Regions from separate parts of the Homo sapiens genome. Here regions 1 and 3 are each linked to region 2. Evidence: promoter capture Hi-C in 16 types of primary human blood cells and fetal thymus (Javierre and others, 2016). All regions are on one chromosome and are shown on one strand. The core of a region is centred on a gene start or on the middle of the fragment in contact, and the rest is flanking DNA. Distances in the headings are between cores, read along the strand shown. Region 1 overlaps DENND5B (DENN domain containing 5B). Region 2 holds the start of DENND5B-AS1 (DENND5B antisense RNA 1). Region 3 overlaps DENND5B (DENN domain containing 5B).

What was found. Contacts are between HindIII fragments. The CHiCAGO score rates a contact against its expected background, and 5 or more counts as called.
Region 1: a fragment that was not itself captured here is called in contact with the fragment with the promoter of DENND5B-AS1 in region 2 in 1 of 17 cell types (endothelial precursors); the score reaches 5.6 in endothelial precursors.
Region 3: a fragment that was not itself captured here is called in contact with the fragment with the promoter of DENND5B-AS1 in region 2 in 1 of 17 cell types (endothelial precursors); the score reaches 7.4 in endothelial precursors.

Annotation. Positions count from the first base shown.
Region 1 is chr12:31,386,925-31,389,807 of GRCh38, forward strand. DENND5B (DENN domain containing 5B) reads right to left here. Exons shown (of 21, transcript NM_144973.4): 20 at 2,400-2,574; 21 at 1-862. The coding sequence ends at 679. Among named protein-coding and RNA genes, the nearest start is that of LINC02387, 19 kb to the left of the region's middle. The HindIII fragment of the contact is 3,687 bases long and covers 1-2,883 here.
Region 2 is chr12:31,588,493-31,591,192 of GRCh38, forward strand. DENND5B-AS1 (DENND5B antisense RNA 1) reads left to right here and starts at 1,431. Exons shown (of 3, transcript NR_046909.1): 1 at 1,431-1,627. It overlaps DENND5B (DENN domain containing 5B), which reads right to left and starts at 2,644. Exons shown (of 21, transcript NM_144973.4): 1 at 2,214-2,644. The coding sequence starts at 2,340. RefSeq lists an enhancer at 1,165-1,244 and silencers at 1,675-2,014, 2,165-2,434, 2,505-2,700. The HindIII fragment of the contact is 7,998 bases long and covers 1-2,700 here.
Region 3 is chr12:31,453,119-31,455,818 of GRCh38, forward strand. The region is part of intron 4 of DENND5B (DENN domain containing 5B); the gene reads right to left. Among named protein-coding and RNA genes, the nearest start is that of LINC02387, 85 kb to the left of the region's middle. The HindIII fragment of the contact is 1,657 bases long and covers 525-2,181 here.

The DNA.
Region 1 (2,883 bases), core at 163-2,662, 200 kb before region 2:
TGTATGTTCTCTTTCCAGTTCAGCCAAGCTCCTGGGGTCTAGTGTTTAAAATACTCCAATTATATCATCTTGTGCGGACTGAAATTTTTTTCCAAAAGACTGGAAAAGTGACTAGCGATTCAAATATATAAAACAGTTTGTAACTTAAAAGATAGAAGTGAAGACTACCAGTACAGTAGGTAAAGCTGTGTGCATCCACAATACAAAGGATCAGACTCCAAGATGGATGGCTACTACATAACAATGCATTCTGGGTTTCTTTGTGATACCTGGAGAAAAAAAAAAGCCCGACTGGGTTGCACTATATTTACATGTTTACTGGCTTCTTCCTGGCTAGCACCACTCTTCCCCCCAACCCCCAACATTTTTAAGCTACTTATTTTAAGTCACAGGAATATTCAATCTAAGAAAAGCATCTTATTAGAGTAATATAATTTCTTAAAGAAGATAGCATATTTACACACATCTAACACATGAAAATACTCTATTTTATACTAAATTCCAGGTTCAAATGAACTACAATACAACATTTTGCCTTGTCTGTAGAGTGAGGATTGTTCCAAATGGGGCATATGTTTGGCTGCCCCTGCAGTGACTCACTACTGTCAGACAAGTCCAAATCGGTCCCCTAGTTGGGGAAGGAGCAAGGTTTGGACTGAGAGTTTCTAGCCAGTTGGGTTACACATCCACTCCTTTGATGAGTGATCCTTCTAGGACTATGGTGAAGTCCTGAATGGTCTGCAGAATTCGGATAAGGGAGTTGACAGTCATGCGGTCTCGCAGGAGAGCGCTCTCTTCATACATTCGAGTGATGGCAGGACACTCAGCTAACAATGGAATCCACTGTGGGAGCAGGCGATCCCTACAGACCCAAACAGAAACAATTCCTGAGCATTGCTGGCCTCGCTGCAGAACAAGGCACACAGTGGAGTCTGTATGAATGGGAAGGTGTGGGACTTGATGGTACAAAATGTATCCAAGCTAAGAGGTCAGGAGAGAGGAAATCAAAGCCAAGAAGTTGAATATTTTCTGGTAAAAAGACAGTGATGAGACAGTGTAAAGAAAGCTAAAGGGAAAACCCATTATTTTAAACCCAATTTAATGTACTTTAAGAGTTTAAAGTACATTAGAAAGTCTATGCACATTAAAGACATTCTCTATTCTGATTTTACCACCTTTAGAAAGAGGCAGAATGTCATTTTCTATGTCTTTTTTTTTAATAGGAGTGTTACTCTGTGGCAAGGCATGCCACAGTATACTGACCTTTTGGAAGAAAGACTACACTAAACTGTAGGGACTTGCTTTTTTTTTTTTTTTTTTTTTTAACTTATATAACATAACAGGGTGAGGAACAAAATCAAAGCAGAAAAACATTAAGTAGATTTTATAAACCAGATGAGAGTTTGCAATGGTCTAATAAATCAGAAGAGTATAGAGATAAAAGGAGATAAAGATCATGCTCAAAAGAAACTTTAAAAGCACAGCTAAAACTGGGCTCCTTTTATGAAGAAGAAATACAGAACTTAGTTCTGTAAACCAGCTGTTTCAGGAAGATAAAACCTCACATCTTCAATGTTTCCTGATCAAACCTGACATTAGTAACCCATTGCTAAGTTCCTAAGACATCCTTATTGAGCATCCCCAATCAGGCCATCTTCAGTCTCAAGTTGGGGCTCTTAAGGTTCAGGAAAAAACAAATACTACATGGGTAACTTAAAAAAAGAAATCTAAAGGTCTGTATGTTTCATTTCTTACAATTCTGAGATCTGTTTTAAAAGTAATGGATTGTATCGCTCCTATGTGCCACTTTCAAAAAATAAAGGGGTAGGAAATAGTCTTAAAGAGAAGATGATATTTATATAGCAAGAATCCCATAATGTTATTAAATGTAAATATAGTGGTATATATACACTATATAAGGTTTACTTAGTAAATATGTACAGTGTATGTGTCTAGTTATCTAACAACTTCCTTATTACCTATCTATCTGTCGAGCCAGTATACAGTCATGGTGGAGAGCTTGGGCTCTGAAGTGGGACAGGGTGTGAACCTGGCTCTGTCTCATTTTTCTGTGTGATCTTGGGAAAGTCTGCTAACTTACGTGTGCCTCATCTATTTTCTACTTTCTCATCTTTAAAATGAAAAAATCGGTTGCTACCTCATGTAGTGGTGGTGGTGAATTAAAGAAACCCAAGGGAGGAGGCAGAGGTTGCAGTGAGCCAAGATTATGCCACGGTACTCCAGCCTAGGCGATGGAGTGAGACTCTGTTTCAAAAGAAAAAGTAAAAGGAAAGAAACCCAAAGGAGAGCTCTGGAAGGGGTATGATCTGGTATAACCTTTTCTGGACTCTAGTTCAACATGTGACAAAGATAGGGAAAATAAAAAACTGGTTTTGTACCTTGTTCCAAGGCAAACTAAAATCTGGAATTTGCCATCCTTCCCAATGTTCCTGGGTGCAGTATTAATAGCATTTACGTAGTGGCAGAAGGTTTTGCAGGATGATTTCTGAATAAGGACATCATCTTCATTATCTAGAATCTGGTCAGTTGTTTCAAAATAAGCAACCACTTTCTCTGAGGAAAAAAGTCAGAATTATGTCACAATATGTGTCAACACTTCATATATAGAAAGATTCATCACTTAATTTATTATGGAAACACTAACGATGCTTTGCATACAGTCAGTCCTGAAGCCAATATCATTACTTTATCATTGATTTTAGGGGTCGATGTTTCATGGTAGAACAATAAATATGCTCCCAGGAATTTATTTTCTAATTTAGACTGCATTCCAGAAGACTGGAAAGTTTACTCCCTTTAAAATACCTTCAGGAAACAGAAACTGGCAAAAAAGAAAACAAAAATAGCATCTTCTGTTAAGAC
Region 2 (2,700 bases), core at 181-2,680:
TACAGACTTCTTTTCTTGTCATTATTCCCTAAACAATACAGTATAACAACTATTTACATAACATTACAACGTAACAGGTATTGTAAGTAATCTAGAGATGACAAAGTGTACAGGAAAATGTTCATAGGTTATATACAAATGCTACAACATTTTATTATAAGAGACTTCAGCATCCGAGGATTTTGGTGTGGGGGACACTCTAGAATCCATCCCCCATGGTTACGGAGAGATGATTGTATTTTCATTATCTCTTTACACTAGAACGTATGCTCCATGATGGCAGGGATTTCTGACTGCTTTCTTCACAGCTGTCCCCAGTGCCTAAAAAACCGACTACAGATAGATGCTTTCAAAACTGTTGGATGAATGATACTGAAATATTACAAGGCAAAATACATTATTACCTGAATACATTAAATATTATGAGAAGCAGAAATCCCAATCACCCACACTCACACAGTTTTGCAAAAAGAGACATCATAGTTTGTTTCTTAAAAATGCATTAAAGTCTAATTGATGGTTTTGTTAACATCATTCTCTCTGTGCCTAAAGAGTCCTAGGTCACACCTAAAAGGTACAGTTTTAGCTTCAGTAGGCAAACGGAAAAGAAAAATACAGGCTTTTTTCCTTTCATTAGTCATCACTGACAGAAGGCCTCCAAGTGACCCTGGTGCCACAAATGTTTAGGATCTTTAGGGAAGAAAGGAGTCTAGAAAAATAACAATATTCCTTCACCAATCTCGAGAAGAATCTCTCCAAATCTCTCTGCAGACATTTTTTCTTCATATCCTTTAACAAAGCCATTCTTAACATGTACATGAAATCTTAGTTGAAGAAACAATGTGATTACATAATTACACATACGGAAAAACTTGGTATTCTATTATCTCTCCAAATTTTTTTTTAACTAAAACTAGACTTACAGTTTTTGTTGAAAATGTTTTGTGTTTCTACCTCCGAAGAATATGAAAAAAAGAAAATGTTTTGCTCTGAAGCTGAGTTAAGAAGAAGATAGCCAAGACGTGGGTTGATGGGGACTGTATTTTAAGGCTGAACAGTTTTGTTTACTATTGTTTATTATTTAATATATTCTTCCCAGTCTCCCCACCCCCACCAAAGGAAAAGCGAAAAATTTACGTTAGTGCAATCAATAAGGAATTATTTGTCCAAAGGAAGTTGTTCTGAAAGGCTATGACCTAAGTCTTTAACACAAAGTTCAGGCGGTAGATGTCACTTCTCTCACCCATTTAACAACAACAACAAATCAAGATTCAGATCCCGCGGAGGCAAGCAGAAAGGAACAGGCGTGAAAAATGAAATCAGTTGTTTCTCCCCGGCCTCCTCTCGACACTGCGCACTCCGCTGCCCTGCCCCCGCCCATCGCCCTTTAGCGGCCCCTTTTAACGGCGTCGTTTGCCCAGCACAGCCCCGCACTGCGCCATCAAATGAGTCAAGCGGAAGGACCGGTACCCCTCCGGGAAAACCAGGCACTAACACACGGTGCACCCAACTGAATTTAAACTCGGGAACAGTGTAGGCAGTGTCAACAAAGCGCGGTGCTGGGTCCCGAGCGTCCAAAGGTCCCTGCCAGCTCCCAGACGCGGCCAAATCCACAGGATTCCAAAAGGTGACTTGGCCGGCACCGCAGAGCGGCAGGCGGCGCAGAGGGCAGAGTCCGACCGGTCCCCGCCCCGCGCTCGCTCCGCACGGCCACCGGCTCCTCCGCGGACGCTACCCCGGCGGGAGCCGAGCTGAGTCCGACTCCCCGTCTCCCGAAGAGGCCCGAAAGCCGCGTCACGTGCGGGGCCGAAACTTCGCGGCCGGGGCCGGGTGGCTGGCGGGTGGGAGGCAGGCACGGCGGTCGGGGGGCAGCCCGCGCGCCCGGTGACTCACCGGCCGCCTCCGAGTGCGGCTGCAAGCGAAGGGGCCGGCGCGCCAGGCGGGGTCCGTGCCCTTGGGGCCACCCCCGCGCCTGTTATTAATAACCCAGCGCCTGGAGGCGAAAGCCCCGGTGGGCGCAGCCGCAAAGCCCGCACGCGGAATAAATAACAATGTCATTAAATCGCGCCCGAGCGCCAGTTCGGCCAGAAAGCGGCGGGAGGGCGCCACCGGGAGCTGACTTTGTCTGGAGCCTGCACCCCGCCTCCCGCGCGTCCCCACAGCGTCCCCCGCGCCCCTGAGGGGGCTCAGCGCCGCCGCAGCCCTGGCCTTACCCGCCAGCTCGTCAGGCTCCAGCCCGCTGTCCGCGTCGATCCCGCACAGCACGAAGTAGTGCGCGAAGCGGCAGGCGGCCGGGGAGGAGCCCGAGCCCGGGCCGGGCGCCGCGCAGCTCCCGCTCATCCCGGCCGCGCTGCTCCAGGGGCCGCCGCCGCCGCCGCCCGGGAAGGCTTTCTGCGGAGGCTGCCACCACCGCTCCGGCTGTGGTCTGTGCGCCCGCCCTAGGGCGACACTGGCGCGCCCATGGCCGCGCAGCCGCCTCTCGCCGCCGCAGCCTGCCTCCTCGCTCGGCGCGGGGGAAGCGGCCGCGGGCTCGCGCGCGGCGGGTCCGGAGCCCGGCCGGGTGGGGGAGGGGCGCGGGGGGAGTGTCGGCCTGAGAGGCCCTCGCAGCCGCAGCTGCGCTCGCGAGCTGAGAGCCGCCGCGTCTGGCGCCCGCGGGTCAGCTGAGCGGCGCTCGGGCTGTGGGAGCGCGGGGCGGGCGGG
Region 3 (2,700 bases), core at 103-2,602, 140 kb before region 2:
TTAACTTTACTCAAAATTCACTAAACCTCCTAGAGCAAAACCATTTCAGAAGTCATTATACCTAATGCAGGAGGCAGAGAGAGGTGGTAGAGGCAAGTGCATATGTAACTATGCACTTGATTAACCTTTGAATAATTAAGAGTTCACACAAGATATTTTTGAGTTGAGTAGAAGAGGTGACAGAAATCAGAAGAAATGTTTGAGTTTGTTTACACTCTACATTTGGAATTTATTTTGAATAAATATTTTAAATATTTTTCAAGTAGATATAGAAAATTCAAGAGGCCAAGCATATGTATAAAGTTCTGATTATCCCTCAGGTATCTGTAGTAGACTTCAAACAGTATTTAACCTCTACTGTCCATACTCTCTTAATCAGGACAAGGTTGTTAGTTAAAAAGAAGGTTGTGTTTCTAGATTGGGGGGTGGAGTGCCAAAAGTGTAGCCCATCACATAAAAATAATATTGATTACATCAATGGTTGAACATAAGACATGGGGTGGAAGTTAATAAACAAAATAGGAAGCTTCACTATGTGTTTCTCCCTGGCTCCCCCACCCCCAGGCACCAAGGGGAAAATTCACACTGCTCTCTGATCCTAGACGGCAAAGTAAGGGGAAAGGGGAAAGCAACCAGTCGGGTCTTTGTTTTTCTCTTTTGATCCTTGCTCTTCATGTTAGATACCAATTAGCAAGCAGCATAGTGAAACTCTAAATTAAGCTCAATAAAAACTCAAAATGAGGCCTAGCATGGTGCCTCATGCCTGTAATTCCAGCACTTTGGGAGGCTGAGGCGGGAGGATGACTTGAGGTCAGGAGTTCAAGACCAGTCTGGCCAACATGGTGAAACTCTGTCTCTACTAAAAATATAAAAATTAGCTGGGCATGGTGGCATGCACCTGTAATCCCAGCTACTCGGGAGGCTAAGGCAGGATAATCACTTGACCTCAGGAGGCAGAGGTTGCAGTGAGCTAAGATCGTGCCACTGCACTCCAGCCTGGGCAAAACACAGCGAGACTTTGGCCAAAAAAAAAAAAAAAAAAATTTCGGTTTCCCTCCTTTCAAAGCCAGATGATCAACAATGATTCCTAAAGCCTGATGTAATCTTTGAATCCAGTCTTTTAATTTTGCAGATGAAGAAACCGAGGCCCAAGAAATTAGGTGACTTCCTGGCACCTGTTCCAAATGTGCACCCTCAAACAGCCTGGTGGCTTATGGCCTTTCCCTGCTATTTTTCCTCACCTCCAATGTCAGCAGTTTTCTCTAAATAAATAAAGAGCTGAAATGTCGCATCTTGCTGAAGACAGTAGCACTGCCTACACCATTCTTTTCTTTTCTTTTTTTGAGATGTAGTCTTGCTCTGTCACCCAGGCTGGAGTGTAGTGGTGCGATCTCAGCTCACTGCAAACTCTGCCTCCTGGGTTCGAGCAATTGTCTGCCTCAGCCTCCCGCGTAGCTGGGATTACAGGTGTCCACCACCATGCCTGGGTAATTTTTTTATATTCTTAGTAGAGATGGGGTTTCACCATCTTGGCCAGGCTGGTCTTGAACTCCTGACCTCGTAATCCACCTGCCTCAGCCTCTCACAGTGCTGGGATTATAGGTGTGAGCCACTGCGCCTGGCCGGCCTACACCATTCTTTACACTGAAAGGCTTAAATGAAGGTCACATAATTTGAATGGATGATTCAGTATCTTTTTTTTTTTTTTTTTTTTTTTTGAGATGGAGTCTTGCTCTGTTGCCCAGGCTGGAGTGCAGTGGTGCGATCTTGGCTCACTGCAACCTCTGCCTCCTGGGTTCACGCCATTCTCCTGCCTCAGCCTCCCAAGTAGCTGGGACTACAGGTGCCTGCCACCACGCCCGGCTAATTTTTTTTGTATTTTTAGCAGAGACAGGGTTTCACCGTGTTAGCCAGGATGGTCTCGATCTCCTGACCTTGTGATCCGCCCACCTTGGCGTCCCAAAGTGCTGGGATTACAGGCGTGAGCCACCGCGCCCGGCCAATTCAGTATCTTTAAAATGGAAGAAAAAATTTACTAATTTGCTAATCTAAATGTTAACCAGCAACCTCCCACCACTTAGATTTTGTACTATCACCTTCACTAATGCCTTCCTACTACCTTTTTCTATCCCTCTCCTCCTCCTATGAAAAGGGAAAATGATACATTTTCTGAAATTTTAAAGCTTATTATGGTCATGAAATCACTGCTGAGCTGAGTGTACTACAAAGTAGGAGTTCCAACACCATAGCTACTGGTCTGTCTTCATGATCCCACAAAAGTCTCCTATGTCTGCTTAAGAAGGGCCCAAGCTGGGGCTTTGATTATCTCAAAGTAGAACAGGAAATACAAACTGTGTTATGAAAATGTATTGAAGAAAACCAAAAAGCCCTTTCTCCAAAACAAACGAGAACTCTATAATAGGGCATTCTGATAAGTTGCTTCTCACTTTTAACACCATTAAATTAAAAAAAATTCAGAAGAGCTCAATAAGTATTACATGATAAAAATTTACTCAACACCTCAATCTGACATTGCTTTAGGACTAAATATTTCTACTGATCAACACTGCTCACAAGCCTTCATGATATGTAACTACTTCCTATTAAAAACAACAAAAGTGGGCTGGGCATGGTGGCTCATGCCTGTAATCCCAGCACTTTGGGAGGCCAAGGTGGGCAAATCACAAGGTCAGGAGTTTG